Linked DNA regions of Homo sapiens: all the other regions are linked to region 1. The links are contacts of gene promoters, found by promoter capture Hi-C in blood cells and fetal thymus (Javierre and others, 2016). All regions are on one chromosome and are shown on one strand. The core of a region is centred on a gene start or on the middle of the fragment in contact, and the rest is flanking DNA. Distances in the headings are between cores, read along the strand shown.

The links. Contacts are between HindIII fragments. The CHiCAGO score rates a contact against its expected background, and 5 or more counts as called.
Region 2: a fragment that was not itself captured here is called in contact with the fragment with the promoter of PLEKHM3 in region 1 in 3 of 17 cell types (naive CD4 T cells, total B cells and activated CD4 T cells); the score reaches 6.1 in naive CD4 T cells.
Region 3: a contact is called between a fragment that was not itself captured here and the fragment with the promoter of PLEKHM3 in region 1, in 1 of 17 cell types (total CD8 T cells). The highest score is 7.2, in total CD8 T cells.
Region 4: a fragment that was not itself captured here is called in contact with the fragment with the promoter of PLEKHM3 in region 1 in 1 of 17 cell types (total CD8 T cells); the score reaches 6.1 in total CD8 T cells.
Region 5: a fragment that was not itself captured here is called in contact with the fragment with the promoter of PLEKHM3 in region 1 in 1 of 17 cell types (naive CD8 T cells); the score reaches 6.6 in naive CD8 T cells.

Annotation. Positions count from the first base shown.
Region 1 is chr2:208,023,918-208,027,179 of GRCh38, reverse strand. It overlaps PLEKHM3 (pleckstrin homology domain containing M3), which reads left to right and starts at 1,653. Exons shown (of 8, transcript NM_001080475.3): 1 at 1,653-1,791. The HindIII fragment of the contact is 3,995 bases long and covers 699-3,262 here.
Region 2 is chr2:206,686,021-206,689,282 of GRCh38, reverse strand. The region is part of intron 9 of DYTN (dystrotelin); the gene reads left to right. It also overlaps the pseudogene VPS26CP1. Among named protein-coding and RNA genes, the nearest start is that of DYTN, 31 kb to the left of the region's middle. The HindIII fragment of the contact is 1,117 bases long and covers 980-2,096 here.
Region 3 is chr2:206,707,034-206,710,295 of GRCh38, reverse strand. It overlaps DYTN (dystrotelin), which reads left to right. Exons shown (of 12, transcript NM_001093730.1): 3 at 2,793-2,994. Among named protein-coding and RNA genes, the nearest start is that of DYTN, 9.7 kb to the left of the region's middle. The HindIII fragment of the contact is 4,270 bases long and covers 1-3,262 here.
Region 4 is chr2:206,770,796-206,774,057 of GRCh38, reverse strand. FASTKD2 (FAST kinase domains 2) reads right to left here. Exons shown (of 12, transcript NM_001136193.2): 4 at 2,768-2,876; 5 at 2,041-2,164; 6 at 1,738-1,877. Among named protein-coding and RNA genes, the nearest start is that of FASTKD2, 6.8 kb to the right of the region's middle. RefSeq lists an enhancer at 3,160-3,262. The HindIII fragment of the contact is 4,118 bases long and covers 1-3,262 here.
Region 5 is chr2:206,796,414-206,799,675 of GRCh38, reverse strand. No RefSeq gene overlaps it. Among named protein-coding and RNA genes, the nearest start is that of MIR3130-1, 15 kb to the right of the region's middle. The HindIII fragment of the contact is 2,607 bases long and covers 419-3,025 here.

The DNA.
Region 1 (3,262 bases), core at 404-2,903:
TTTTTTTTTTTTTTAGAGTGAAAGTTTATTAAAAAGCTTTAGAGTAGTAATGAAGGGAAGGAAAAGAAGAAAAGAACACTTGGAAGAAGACCAAGCAAGTGACTTGAGAGACCAAGCACCTGTTACCTGCTTCTTAAAGAGCAAAGAGAAATTAGCCAGCCTAAGTAAGAGGATGGGCCAGGAGTGAGAACTCTCATCAGAGGGAATCACATGTACAAAGTCCTGAGGCAAAAGAGAATACTGCAAATATTCTCTTTTGGTAATTAAAACAAAACAAAACAAAAAATGTACCTCTGGCCAGGTGAGGTGGCTCACACCTGTAATCCCAGCACTTTGGAAGGCAAGGAAGAAGGATTGCCTGAGGCCAGGAGTTCAGGATCATCCTGGGCAACACAGGGAGACCTTGCCTTTACAAAAAAAAAAAAAAGAGAAAGAAAGAAAAAAGAAGTTAGCCACGTTGTGGTGATGCGTGCCTGTAGTCCTAGCTACTCAGGAGGCTGAGTTGGGGGGATCCCTTGAACCCAGGAGTTCAGGGCTGCAGTGAGCTATGATCGTGCGACTGCACTCTGGCCGGGGCACAGAGTGAGATCCTGTCTCTAGCAAAACAGAAAAAAAAGTACCTCAAATTGCAGGGTTTAAAGAAAGCTTATTTAAACTTTGAATATCAACCAAAGGAAATTTTTTCTTAACTCAAAGCTTAAAGATTTGCTTATTAATCTTCTGGAGGGTGGGAAGGTGGGAAGAGGAATCAGAGTTTTAGATTTCTGTTTCATCCCTGACCCCTTTGACCTTTTTTTTTTTTTATCATTCCTTTGTTCATTCATTTATTCAGATATATATACATTGGGCCTGTGCTAGGTGCCTACTAGATGGTGGTGAGTGAAACTGAAATAGTGCCTGCCCTCAGGGAGTTTATAGGTGAGATGGGTGAGCGTGGGAAAACCAATAAAACTGATAAATAAGTGTGTACTTATAAAGTGAGAAAATGGCTAAGAAGTGTGCTATGATGGAAAACAGACAGGAAACTGCAAGGAAGGTCTGTCCAATCAGACCAGCATATCCCTGCAAAGCGACCACAGTCACTGCAGGTGGGATGTGGGCGGTCTTACCAGGCAGTCCTGCCCGCGTGCACACACACGCACACCCTATTTTGCTGGGAATCCGCAAGTGGGGGTGAAGACCTCACCTCAAAACCACCCCTTTTCAACCTGCGTAGGAAAGGACAGTGAAAACGGATTTTCACTGCAGCCCCAAAACCGGAAATGAGAAGCAATCTCCAGAATAGTCCCACTTTTGGAAAGAACTTATTTGAGTAATTAATTCCCTTAGACAAGGGAGCTGCTAAAAACCAGCCCGATCCTGACATGTTCTAAGTGACATTTTCCAATCGCAAACACCCATTTTGGCGTTGGGTGGAGCAGTGAGGAGACTCCACGACACACGCCATTGCTTTCACAATGTGTACAAGAGGAACTGTATATAAGAAAGCAAAGAAATAAGGAGGCCTGGCGGGTGCGGTCAGGCCTTGCCTAGCTGCCGGGTCCCTCGGGCAGGAAAGACTCGTCCTCGCGGCCTGGAACCTTGTGTGTCCGGCTCTGGCTGCCCGGGCCGCCGGCGGAAGCATTTCAGAGTGGGACCGCGAGAAGCCGCTTGTAAACAGAGCCGGGCCGGGATGGTCAGCGCCCGGGCGGGCTGTCACCGTGAGGCGGGCGGCAGGCTGCGGGAGTCAAGCCCCTCCAGGAGCGGACTGAAGGCCCCGCAGGTGAATGGAGAGTAGCAGCCGGGGCCCAGGTGAGCATCCGTCTGCTTCTGTGCTGCCTGGCCGGCCAGTTTGGGGGATGGGGTGGGGACGACTGCATTGTAAATATCCGAGCAGCTCCCAGGGATAGCAGTGATTTTGCTGTTTCTTGCATGCTCAGGTTTTTATTACGTGCTGGAGATTGTACCACACTGCAATGGCTAATGGGTGAGGGGAGATTACATGATGCATTGTCTGCTTATTTTTGTGAATCAGGTATGTAATAGGAGGAGAAAGTAGTTGAAATAGTAGGTGATCTTGTTGAGTGCGTTATTAGTATCCCTGCCATCCCCGCCTGGGGATTATAAAACCAAACCCCAGCAGAGCTTTTAACCTACATCAGGCTGGGGCTTCCAGAAAACGATTGTTCTTTCTGTCGACTCTGTCCGTTTTTAATGTATAGTAAATGACACCACATGACTGATGACAAGCATGGTTTGGTCTTGTAGGAAAGAATTATTAAGCTAAAAAATCAAGATAAGAAAATCTCACACTCATCCCTTAAACAAAAATAAATTACTACTGAGATATATATTTGGATGACAAATTGAGACTGGTCTGGATGTATACCTTGCAAAGCAAGACAAATTTGAATTTACCAGGTTAAACTGAGATTGAGCCATGCTGTTGTAAACTTATTTAGAAGTTTATTTCTCTCTTCTTTTTTCTTCCTTGGAAGGGACCAGAGAGAAACAGCTGAATTTTTTTCTCTATATTTTAAGTAATCGTAGTGAGTTGTGATTTGTATTTATAAAGTATTTTATTATAAAATACTACATGTAAATTATAATTGGCATACTTAAAATACAAGGCAGTTTTTGACTGACTGACTTCAAGAAAATGCCTTAACAAAAGCTGGGCTATATATCTAGTCTCTAAAAATATCAGTAGACATTTGTAACCTTGGTCACATAGTCTTTTAGACAGGAGATGAATATTAGGTTAAATTGCACCTACAATAGATAGATATACATAGAAGAAATGATACTAATTCCTGATGAGTTTTTCTTTACAATGAATATTTTTACAATGTCATGGTTTATAGCAAAAACTATAAAGCCAGACTACTTCAGTTTGAATTCCTGCTTGGTCACTTCCTAGTTGTGTAATCTTGGGCAGTTTACTTAGCGCTTCTGTTTCCTAATCTGTAGAATGGGAATAATAATAGTATTGACCTCATTAGGGTTTTTATTATTGTTATTTTATTTTATTTTATTTTATTTTATTTTATTTTATTTTGAGACAGGGTCTTACTCTGTCATTCGGGCTGGAGTACAGTGGCGTGATCATGGCTCACTGCAGTCTCGACTTCCTGGACTCAAGCGATCCTTCCACCTCAGCCTCCCTTGTGGCTGGAACCATAGGCACAAGCCACCACGCCTGGCTAATTTTTGTACATTTGGTAGAGACAGGGTTTCGCCATGTTGCCCAGGCTGGTCTTGAACTCCTGAGCTCAAGGCTTAG
Region 2 (3,262 bases), core at 289-2,788, 1.3 Mb after region 1:
TATTGAATTCGTTCAATGATTCAGCAAACTATCTGCATGGTAATAAGCCTTCTCCCTTTTGATGTGGTTTTATTTCCTTTACACATGATAGTTTGCACTGAGAATACTTTCATTTACAAAACCAGAACTGAAAGTTAGGTGCCAAATATCATCACTCTTATTAAATATTTCAGGAAGTTCTTGAAAACATAGTTAAAAAGAAAATTAAACTGCAGAAAAATAACAGACAGAATTACTTCTCTTTGTAGCTAATTTAATTGTGAATTACTAAGAAACCCCAAGTAACTAGCAAAAATTACTAGAATTAATAGGCTTCAAATGATGGTGGAAAAATAAAATAAACATATACAAAATTCTTCACTCTACTAGCAATAACCAGCTATAAATTTTGTAAGAATCTCATTCAAAATACATGTAAAAATTATTTTTAAAAGAAACTACAAAAAAGTTTAACAAAAAAGATACAAGACCCAAATAAAATTATAATATTTTATTGAGTACAGAAAACAAGTCCTGAACAAAAGGAAAAAATGCCAAATTTCTAAATGAGAAGACTAGCATAAGAATGTACCTGCTCCAAAAATTAATAGCTGATTTTTGTTATTTGCAGATTCAATACTTACAAATTTGCCTACTTGCAAAAATTTATTTGTAACCCTAAAATTAACACTCCTGGTGCTTTTTCAGTATTTGCAGACATAAGCAGAGTGGCAAAAAAATTTTGAGTTGCCTGATGCACGTGTTCCCAGCTGAGGTCAAACCAGATAGTGCTCTGTGTTACTGTTTCAGCCCTCATTCTATAAGCAAGTGTCCTTTTCGTGTCTATTTTGTGTCTTGTTTTTTTATATTTGTGCTTTTTGTTGGTGATTTTACTTTGGCAAATGGCCCCAAAGCACGGTACTGAATTGCTGTCTAGTGTTCCCAAGCACAGCAAGGCTACGATGTGCCTTAATGAAAAAATACACACGTTAAATAAGCTTCATTCAGGTATGATTTATATTGCTGTTGACCATGAGTTTAATGCTAATGAATCAACAATATATATTTAAAAAGCATCTTTATACAGAAACACATAAAACAAGGTTGTGCATTGATTGGTTGACAAAAATATTGTGGCCAGAGGCTTGCAGGAACCTAACCCTGTATTTTCTCTAGGAACAATGGGTTCAGTATTTCCTAATTCACTGTTCATGGTAGCCTTATAGAGCATAATCTACTGTATTTAAATTTAATGCATTTCCAGATAGAATCACAAGGTTTTCTAAATAGGATAAAATAATTTTGAAGGTATGTTGGAAGAATAGTTGTACAAGAATAGTAAAATTATGAGACTGAAGAATAGTGAGAGACATTAATATCTGAAGAACAGATGTTAATACAACAGATATTAACACTTACTATAAAACTACTATGACCAAATAATATAGTATAAAACGGGAATGAACATGTAGGTCTAAGGATGAGAATACAAAATATAATAATTGATCTAAGCATATATGGGAACCTAATATATGATAAAGGTGATATTTCAATTCATGGAAAAATAATGCATAATTGGCTATCCATCTGAAAGGAAAATTGGCCCTTATTTTGCCCCATATACTAAAACAAATTCCAAATTGATTGAAATTTAAATGTAAAAAGAATTTAAAATAAATATTAGAAAAAAGAACATCTCCTAAGGAAGAAAGAAAAACAAAAAATCATGAAGGAATAGACAGATATATATGATAGCATGTAATTTTAAACATTTTGTTATGGTAAATGATAGTATAAACAAAATTAAAAATAAGCCCTAGACTTAGAAAAATATTTTCGGTAATAAGATAAATGATGCTATTAAAAGGGTCCCTGAAAAATTGATAAGAAAAACTTGATGTGAGGTCAGAAGTGTTGGCTGCTGTGGAGAATTCAAAACAGGGACCTCCCTGGACATCAAGATGGAAGAGCAAATAGTTTCTCATGCTGGAGAAATGCTCTCCAGTGTGGTGGTCGTATCTTGTAAGGATTCAGTCCCACATCAAGTAGTGTCTTTGACAATGGAAGGAATTGCAATCCCCCAGCTCAGTGCCAAAAGTGTGGGCAGTTTTGAAGCTTTTTATAATTCCATTAAACCTATCCAGATTATCAACAGTGCCATAGAAAGGATGAAGCCAGGGAAATTTCCCTATGGCAAAACAAATTTATTTCGCATTTCTTCTGTATGTGAGGGGTAACAAAGTTCTGTATGAGACTTATTATCAGACATTCAGTATACACTACGCTGTGACATGAGGCAGTCTCTGTTGACCAAGGACTTGACAAAGGCCGGTGAATTTACCATCCACTCTGCTCCTCAGGAGGGGAAGTTGACTCCAAGTCCTGTGGACTTCACAGATTATACCTGCAACCTTACAGAATATCAAAGAGAGAGCCTTGCTCCCCAGATTTCTCATTCGAGAACACCCCAACTCAATGAATTGTGTCATCGTGCAGCTGCTTACAGGAGAGCTGGTGGTGAAAAGGCATGGGGCTGCAACTGGTGCACATGGAGACCTGTGGGTGTGCAAAAAGCTATGCCAATGATGCCACAGAGTTTCCTTATATTCAGATGCCCATGGGGACATTTGTAGGGGCCTCTCTGTCCCTATATACATGGTCTTCTCCAGGCTGTTTACCTGCCGCATGCTGAAGACCAACTTCAAAGTGGAATTTGAGGCCACCATCGACATGCGTCTTCATGCTAACCACCTGGTCACAGAGAACTTCCTATTGCAGCTCTGCAGGACTCAGCCCAGGAGGAGGGAAGCACAGAAAACAGGGGTGGCCTTGTGGATATCCTGCTGGTTATCGTTCATGGGGAACTAAAGCCAGCAGTATATACTTGTTTTTGTGATTATTCTGTATCAGAAATGAAATGGACTCCTTAAATTACAATTATTTTTCCTCCTCATTTCTTCGAGGCTTCTACTTCCAAAAGTCACCTTTAATCATATCTTTTCTTTGAAATTCAACAGAATTTCTTAATGCTGTTTGCAAGATCATTTCACAGAAAACGTTTCCTGTGACTTACCTGTTCTTGTACCAAAAAAGGCACAGAAAACCTGTTGTGACAGCCATTGGAGCTGTGCTGGAAAGTAAGATCATGGGGGCAAAAGGAAACTTCTCTCTGACTCGCTAATAATGAAAGTAGCTGAGCACTCCCCACAGCAAAGGGTCTGTGGCCAGGTGGCATTGCTTATGAAGTTTGTAGATACCCTCCAAGGAAGAATGCAAAGTGGCA
Region 3 (3,262 bases), core at 496-2,995, 1.3 Mb after region 1:
AGGATTTTTAATTTTTTAAATATTTTCTCCACTTGGCTTCTTCTAGAAAATGTTTTTGGTTTCCTTTTCAGGATACCAATATGGACACAAAATAAAATTGCAAAAAAAAAGTATTTTCAAAACTGCACTTATAGATTTAAGTATAAAAATATAAAATTCCATCTACCACGTAAGATTTGCATTTTCAAGTTGTACCTATAATCTATATATGAACATGCAAAAGTAGGTACAAATGAATAAATAACCCATGGACCATGAATTTTAAAACTATCTCGAGAATTCCCTGAGAACTGCCCCTTTTTGCAGTAAATTTATATCTGATTGAATGTATGGTTTTCTTTTCTTTTCTTTTCTCCTACTGTTATCTAGGCAAAATAAGGTAAAATGTTTTTACTAAAACATGTATCCTGTGAAAATTTTCCAAGGTGAAAAATAAACTGGGTCCAAGCTATGAAACACATCAGGCATTCAGCATATCTAAAGTTATTGATTTCTCACTGCATGAAAGAAAAATCACTTCACGTAAAATGATTTCTGAAATTTATCATATCAGACCTAAGAGAAGTTATGTTATATATATGACATTTCTACTGAAGGCTGACATTTAAAAATATTTTTCCTCCTGCCTAAAAAGTTATATAGGGCAGTGGTTTTCAAATTGGGCTTCACAAAATATATGTGAATGTAGGGTAGGGCAAAAAAGAGTTAGCCAGGTGGGAAGAGGAGTTGCAAGCAAGGTGGGACGATTCAAAGACCACATCCTCAGCAGGAACAACTCCATCCTTCTCTATTTTCCATACCGTGTTTGCTTGTATGTGTGTGTGTGTGTGTGTGTCTGTGTGTGTGTAAGCTGGGGTCTCACTCTGTCACCCAGGCTGGAGTGCAGTGGAGGGATCTCAGCTCACTGCAACCTCTGCCTCCCAGGCTGAAGCCATCCTTCCACCTCAACCTCCCGAGTAGCTGGGACCACAGGCGTGAGCCACCACACCCTGCCAATTTTTTGTATTTTTAGTAGAGACAGGGTTTCGCCATGTTGCCCGGGCTGGTCTTGAACTCCTGAGCTCAACTGATCTGCCCACAGTGGCCTCCCAAAGTGCTGGGATTACAGGCATCAGCCACCGCGCCTGGCCTTATACTGTGTTTCTGTATTAGGTTCCTTTGAAGAAGAAATTTTTGGTTTTAAAAACAGTTTTATGTAGATTACTGCTCTAGATAAAGAAACTCACTTATAACTATTATTTATTATTCCAGGAACAAACAAAAAGCTAAAAATTTACCCCCAATTATGCATTTTCCTGGAGAATTTCTCCCATTAGAGAAAGTTAGCAGCAATTGTTCACATGTCCCAGTCACGAATGCCTGAGTATGTTCCGTAGCGTAATTTGTGGATGCACAGTTTTCAACTTTTTGTTATCTCTGGCATCAGAAACAGTGAATATAAATAACACTCATGGGAAATATTAACAATACACAAAATCAGTGGTTGAAAAATGTTACCTAGAAAAGATATCCAAACAAAAATTTAAAAACAGAAAATCCCAAACACTGAGATAAAGCATAACATGAGCTCCAAATAGGAAGATCGGGGACACATCGCTGTATAAATCTTGTGGTGAGATTAATGGACACCACTATTATCTGGTTTGGTGTAATATAGAACTCTCAGCAGGAGATGAAATCGGCCTGTGTTCAGAATGCCTGGCTGAGGTGACAGGTTTTAACGATAAAAGAGTTTACAGCCTTCACCACCTGCAGCCAGGTTTTTATTTAAGTCACATTCTGAAACTTGTTCCTCTGTTCCTTAGACTCTCCTCTTAAAAGCAATATCAGAGAACAAATAAAAATTTTTATTATACTTGCTAGATTTCTTATCTGAGGTTGATTTACGAAGTAGAGAGAAACCCAGGGTTTTATGGTTTCACAGGCTGAAGCGTTTTAAATGCCAGGAGCTCTTGGCGCTCTTGATATCCCCACCTCTCAGATGGTGCAAGTGGCTGTTTATTAATTTTGTCTGTCATCCTCTCTCTGCAAGAAGCTATGGGGTTAGCTCTATTACATTCTTGTTTCTATTCATTGCCTTGTAAAAATTTTAGGAGAAGGTGGTTAAAAAATATTCAGTATAAGAAATAAACCATTATTTTTTGTAAGCAGCTGTAGTTTTATTAAGTGCCTTCTCTAGATAATAATACTGATGGAACCAAGATTGTTAACAGTGGTATTACTGAGTTGCAGAATTCTCAGACTCTTTAGCCTAAAGATCTTTACAGAAGAGTAACTGCTCTTTTATGAAGATCACTGTTTTGTATTTAACTACGGCAATTGCTTTTCAACACACCATATTGCTTCTGAAGCTGGGCTGCAGACAAGAAAAACTATATTTGAACAGGAAAGGTAAATTTATTCAATCCACTTAATGAAGAGTATAAAAATGTTTTCCCCAACTTTTTACCACAGTGTCATAACTTTCTTGGAAAGCGTATTTTTCGTTTCTCACTTCCCTTTTTAACTTCTTTCTATAAAACAACATCCTAGAAACTGTACTGGTAATAATGTTACAACTATGCTTTACTAACAGATGCACCTTTCCAAAATCAAATGAATCGCTAGAATAGTAACGCCTGAAGTATACACAAGGAATATATGTCCAAATAGTAGTCATATTTCATTCCCCTTAAAAGAAAATAGCGACCATAAAAAGTCTTAATTATAAAACACCAAATGACATTTGCTTTATTTGAAGCCTTTTGTTCCCATCAGAAAATAAGGCTCAATTCTTCATTTGCTTCCTACAGTGGACTTGATTGACAGCTCCCTGATTCAGCAGGTCCTACTGCGTCCAAGTTTCTGGGAAGCTCGCAAGCACTCCCTTTCTGTGCAGCAACTTTCTCAGGCACTCCAAGAGCTGTTTCAGAAGGCCAGGGAGGAAAACCCAGGACAAGTGCATCCCAGAGCTCCGGAACTCACTCTGAGCCTTCTCACGACAATGTACAACAGGTGAGGGTGTGGACGTCGCGCTGTGACCTCAAAGGCAAAGTTTAGTTTCCAGTGGTCATTTACCATTTGGTGCTGGCTAATATTTGCTTGAGGTTTGGTATATAAGAAGTCTTCTTTGTTTGTTTTTCACAAATTTATTCCTCAGGAGTAGAACAAAGGAGTAAATGCCCATCGGCTTTAGGAATATAAATGACCCATGGATAGCAAAAAGAGGGAGAGAATTCCACATTATTCTTTCCTTCAGACAAATTCACTCCTACTCTAGAGA
Region 4 (3,262 bases), core at 404-2,903, 1.3 Mb after region 1:
ATCTGTTCTATTAATTCTTGAATTGGGTATCAAGTTAATAAGCAATCTTTTTTAAGCTGAGAACCAGGGCATACAATGATTTCTACGTTTCCATCTGATTTAAAAATAAATCTCTTCCTACATGCTTTTCATACAACATATCTGAAAATTACTTTTAAATATGCCTTTTCTGAAGGTTTTCAAAATGACCAACTCAATCTTGAACTTCTCGCATTCCCAAACTTAAATACTTCCTAGATTCTAACATGTAAGACATAACCCCAAAATTTCTATATTTAATATTCATACCTATAAGTGAAAATGGAACTGAAACATTATGATTAAAATAAACTTTCAAGTTCACCTCCAATTTCCTTCTCAATCTTTCTTACTTAGGATTATTACTTCTCTTTCTATAACCAATTTCCACAGTAAACTCAATATTTACCTTACTCTCCAAAATAAACTGAACCTAGAGATCTAACAGTTATCACCTATTTCATTGCAAAAAGAAGTTTTTACCAGGTGCTTCATTAAATGTTTATATTCTTAACACAGCTCCTGATTTTAAAGGCTTTTACTCTGGATAAAACAATGGACATGACCATTAAGTAGTGACATTTTATTCTTCAAAAACCCCAAGCCTGTCACATCACCCATCTTTATTATTTGAAATCTAACAAGAACAAAGTATAAACACGGAAATCATGCTAAATATCTAACAAAAGTACCATACAACCCTTTTTTTTTTTTTTTTTTTTTGAGACAGAGTTTTGATCTTTATTGCCCAGGCTGGAGTACAGTGGCACAATCTCAGCTTACTGCAACCTCCACCTCCCAGGTTCAAGTGGTCCTCCTGCCTCAGCCCCCCTAGTAGCTGGGATTACAGGGACACGTCACCATGCCCGGCTACTTTTTGTATTTTTAGTAGAGATGGGGTTTCACCATGTTGGCCAGGCTGGTCTTGAACTCCTGACCTCAGGTGATCCACCCACCTTGGCCTCCCAAAGTGCTGGGATTACAGGCGTGAGCCACCGCGCCCAGCCCATACAACCCTTTTAAAACGAAAAAGAAGAGCAAATTTTTGTTTCAAATAGAAAGATGACCAAAGGATAGAATAGTATACAGATTGTCCTTGACTTACGGTGGGGTATATCCCAACAAACTCACCATAAATTGAAAATATTTTAAGTCAAAATGCATTTAATACATCCAACTTACTGAACATCATAGCTTAGCCTAGCCTACTTTAAACACGCTTAGAACACTTACATTCACCTATAGTTGGGCAAAATGAGTTAACAAAAAGCCTATATTATAATAAAAGTGTTGAATATCTCAAGTAATTTATTGAATACAATATGCATTGTTTACCCTCATGATTGCACAGCTGATTGGGAGCTGCGACTTGCTGCCACTGCTCAGCATGAAAAGAGAGCATCATACAACATATCACTAACCCAGCAAAACAACAAAATTCAAAATTCAAAGTATGGTTTCTACTGAATGCGTATTGCTTTTGCAACATCAAACAGTCAAAAAATATTAAGTCAAGCCATCCTAAGTTGGGGACTATTCATATTAGCAAGTAGCCCCCAGACAGGAATAATAAGGAGCTAATTTTTCAAAAGTCAATTCAGCATTGGAATATTTTGGTATCTTAACTACTATAAAGGTGAAAGAGAAATACTTAAAATGCTACATGAATTAGTGTTTTAAAAGTTTGTGAGGCTTATTCTAAATTGTTAATGTACTCACTTTTCTGAACTTCCAGATGTCGAAAGTTGCAGCCACATAATCTGCAAGTCCCTTGAAGAGATCCAAATTATGGTACTGGAGGTCTTTGCAGGACTGCAATATGTTGATCATTATTCTTAAAGGACACCCATGGATATTATCTTGAAGAATGAGTTAAATAAACAAACAAAAATTACCTGATTGTTTTGAATACAACATGCTTTATTCTTTTTTCATATAAAAGCAAAGTTTTTAAAACAAAACAAAAATAGTCTAAAACAGAAGCTCAGGTATTGCAAATGATGAAAGAAAAATTCCTCTTACCTAGGACCACCTTACTGCATTCATCCAGGAGTATAAGAGATCGGTGATTCATGGCAGCTAGTACTTCAAACATGTGTTGGCTATTCAAAACAGAAAATCTGTCTAATTCCCTCAAGGCTTTCATCTAAAGAAAAAACAAATTTTAATTTAATTTACTATCTGTGACAAAATAAATTAAACTTTTATTTTTATTGAGACAGGGTCTTGTGCTGTCACCCAGGTTGGAGCCTCAACCTCCCAGGCTCAAGTGATCCTCCTGCCTCAGCCGCCCATGTAGCTGGGATTACAGGCATGCACCACCTACAGGCATGTACCACCACGCCTGGCTAATTCTTTGATTTTTTTTTTTTTTTTTTTTTTTTTTGCAGAGACAGGGTCTTGCTCAGTCACCCAGGCTGGTCTCAAACTCCTGGGATCAAGAGATCTCCCTGCCCTTGACATCCCAAAGTGCTGGGATTACAGGTGTGAGCCACCATGTCTGGCCTAAACATTTATTTTTAAACAAAAAGGATGAAGTTTGGGTAATATGACCCAGACAGATAAATAAATATACATGTATATATATACAGATAAATAAATATAAGGGTACTTCTATTCATTCACTTTAGTGAAGCTAAACCTAAAAGCCCAGCAATGTCCTCCTAGAAAATTGACTTCAGGCAGTGATAGCAGGTTATAAGAAAGATTTTTTCAAATCTCATCCACTAGAGAAAATTCATGTGTTTACCTCCAGTTTCCTCTTAAGAGCAATCGGTGCATCTTTTCCAATACACTTCATCACAACTTGTAATGTGAAGACATCTTCTATTTTCCAAACTTGCTGATCAACTAGTATTCTGTTATCAAACACAATAAATATTAAAATCATAGAATCTTCAAAGCAGAAGAAAAATCTTAAAATTTCATTTGGTCCAGCCCCTTCTTACAGGCAAGGATTATGAAGCCCAGAGAAATGATCTACCTGCTTGAGAGAGTGTAAGTAGTTAAAGATCGAGACCCAATCTATTAATAGTGCTATTTTCTCTCACATTATTGTGCTGTCTTTACTAAAGAACAAATTATGTCAGGAGATTATAGTAACATATCCTATGCATAGTCAATGTCAAAGGGAGTTAAGTTTTACTCTCACTAATCTATGACATTAGATCATTTATATCAATTTTATAAATCCCTTTTCAAGCTGGGTCAACGTCAACCCTCACATAGTCCCCGAATAACTATT
Region 5 (3,262 bases), core at 473-2,972, 1.2 Mb after region 1:
ATATCTCCTGTGACTCCCCTAGAAAATTTTACTGTCCTAGCCAGATTTTCTTTCTCCTGTTGTTTCTTCTCAAATTTATCATTCTTTGTCTAAAAAGTATAAGAATATCTTACTTTGGCCTCTTGTTCAGACTTCACTTTCTTGTGAAGATCCCCAAGTACATGTAAAACTAGTAAAATTTATACATTTTTCTCTTGTTAATCTGCCTGCTGTCAATTTAGCTTCTACATCCAGCTGACCAGCCCACTAAGAGCTAACAGAAGGGTTGAAGTTGATCTCTGGTTCCCCGGTACCATGCTGTTCAAGCAGTGTAATCTCCCAGGTCCCTCCTCAGTAAATTTCGATTCAGTATCACTGGGACAGGCCCAACAGTTTGTGGTTTTGTCAAGTACATGTGACTGTAATCACCAGGAAAGCTTGAGTAACACTGGTGCGATGATACAAGCATGAGCTCTGGGGTCAGAAGGACTTGGGTGCAGATCTGGCTCTGCCTTTTTTCTAGTTGTGCACCCCTAGGAAAGGCAATTAAGGCCTTGAGTATCAGTTTATTCATCTATAAAATGAATATTAGTAATCATTAATAACCACCAAACAGGGGTGTGAAGACTGAATGATATAATGGGTGTGAAATGCTAGCACAGTGCCTGGCACATAGTAGGCACTTAATACATGGTCATTACTATTGTTAACTTAATCACCCACTCAGCTTAATGAATTTGCCCTATGTGACTTTTTGTTATTTCTAAAAATTAAATCCACAGTGAAAGGATATGAGGATACATAAAATACACTATCATAACGTATATTATACTTCATTAAAAAGTAAACAACTAAAGATCCTTAGGAAAAGTGATAGATGATAGATAGCCAGATAGGTAAATTTTAGGATAGGAAAATGTTCTAGAAATGAAAAACCAAACATTTAAAACAGTTTAACACTCAGGAGAATAACAAGTTTCTAGAAATACACACACACACACACACACACACACACACACACACACACACACACACACTGATACAAAAGGTAGAAACAATCCAAGGGCCCATCTGCAGATAAACAAAATGTGGTATATACATACAATAGAATATAATTCCATCTTTTTAAAAGGAAGGAAATTCTTTTTTTTTTCTTTGAGACAGGGTATCATTCTTTCCCCAGGCTGGAGTGCAGGGGCATGATCATGGCTCACTGCAGGCTCAATCTCCTGGGCTCAAGCCTTTTTAATTTTCTTGTAGAGATGGGGGTCTTGCAATGTTACCCAGGCTGGTCTTCAACTCTCAGCCTCTCCATCTTAGCCTCCCAAAGTGCCCGGGCGAAAGAAATACTGCCACATGCCATGACACGGATGAGCCAGAAAACACTACGCTAAGTGAAAGAAGCCAGTCAGTAAAGAATAATACTGAGCAATTCCACTCTATAAGGTGTCTAGAGTAGTAAAATTCATAGAGACAGAAAGTAAATGGTGGTTGCCAGGCACTGGGGGAAAGGGGAAATGGGAGTTACTGTTTAATGTGTCAGTATTTCCGTTTTGCAAGTTGAAAAGATTCTGGAGCTGGAGGGTAGTGATTGTTATATAACAATGTGAATGTACTCACTGCCACTGAACTGTACATTTAAAAATGGTTAAGATGGTAAATATTATGTTGTGTATTTTATCACAATTTTAAAAAAAATTAAGAAAATCAAGATGATATCAAATCACAGTTAAATATGAGTTTCAGAAATAGCTTGTTCGGTTTGTGTTGCTACAAAGAGCCCCATGTGAGTGAAATACTTCTAAGTGTACAGATTACATCCTTTGGAAAAATGAGCAAGTAAATTCACAAGTAATTTTGCATCTGTATTCTCAAACAATGTGACCGCACTGCCTTAGTTGCCTGTTTTTCTTTCAAACTATTCATTTACAAGATCACTCAAGAAATGTTACTCAGCTAAGTGGGAGGCTATGACTGGAAAACCTGTTCTGCCTTAACCCTGGCCTGGGGGATGCTTTGAAAAATGGCTGTGGTGCATGGAGCACTCTAAGGAAAACACTGAGGGGTGTTATCATCCTGTCTTAAGGCACTGTGATCTGTGCAGAGCTCTGCCCTGGGGCAGCTGGGCAAAGAGCAGGTGCATCCAAGGCTTGGCCTGTGGCCTGGATGACGTGGAACCCCCGTTACAATAGCCTGCAACAGCACAGGAGTAGTGGCTGTCGGGGGAGCTTCATCTGAACCCAAGCTGGTGAACGGGGCTTTGCCCCTCTGTTTTATTTATCTTTAATTGATTTTCTTTAACACTAGGTTTTCTTCAGGCCTCACATTTAATAAGATGGAGTATTTTTCTGATGAGTGTAAGCAGCATCTGAGCACTTCAAAGGTTCTCGAATAGAATAGCATTGGCTCTTTGTCTAATTTAACTTAAAAGTTATGACGAGGTGAAAGCTCATTTATATATTTAATATATTTCATGTCTTTCTTATTTATTTATTTTTTGAGACAGAATCTCACTCTGTCGTCCAGGCTAGAGTGCAGTGGCATGATCTCGACTCACTGCAAGCTCCACCTCCCAGGTTCACACCATTCTCCTGCCTCAGCCTCCCAAGTAGCTGGGACAACAGGCACCCGCCACCACGCCCAGCTAATTTTTTGTATTTTTAGTAGAGACGGGGTTTCACCATGTTAGCCAGGATGGTCTTCATCTCCTGACCTCGTGATCCGCCCGCCTCGGCCTCCCAAAGTGCTGGGATTACAGGTGTAAGCCACCGTGCCCGGCCTATTCTGCATTTTTTAAGCAAGGAAGCAAGCAAGCAAGGAGGAGGGAAGGAGATGGATTGCCTGAAATAATTGGGTGAAAGTTTGATGCTATCTTCCCTTCCCTCTTTAGGATTATGTGGCCCCTGGTGTAAAGAGATTGCCTGAGAGGAGCCTGGCAGAACTGTAGTGAAAGCATGGGGAAGTGTGGTGAAAACTGGATGCAAGGAGAACAAATGGAAAATAAAGGCAGGTGTGTTGGTTTCTCCCTTCCTCTGCCTCAGAAGCTTTATTGCTGCCTAGAGAAACCTGCTCAGGGTGGGGTGACATGTAAAACCAGCCAGCAGTATACACAGGTGTTCCTAGTGGGTCTTAATAACATTAAGTGTCTGTAACCCTGAGTGAAATTCTTTTTAAATTCTTTTTTCTTTTTTGAGACATGGTTTCACTCTGATATCCAGGTTGGAGTGCGGTGGCACAATCTTGGCCCACTGCAGCTTCGACCTCCTAGGCTCAGGCGATCCTC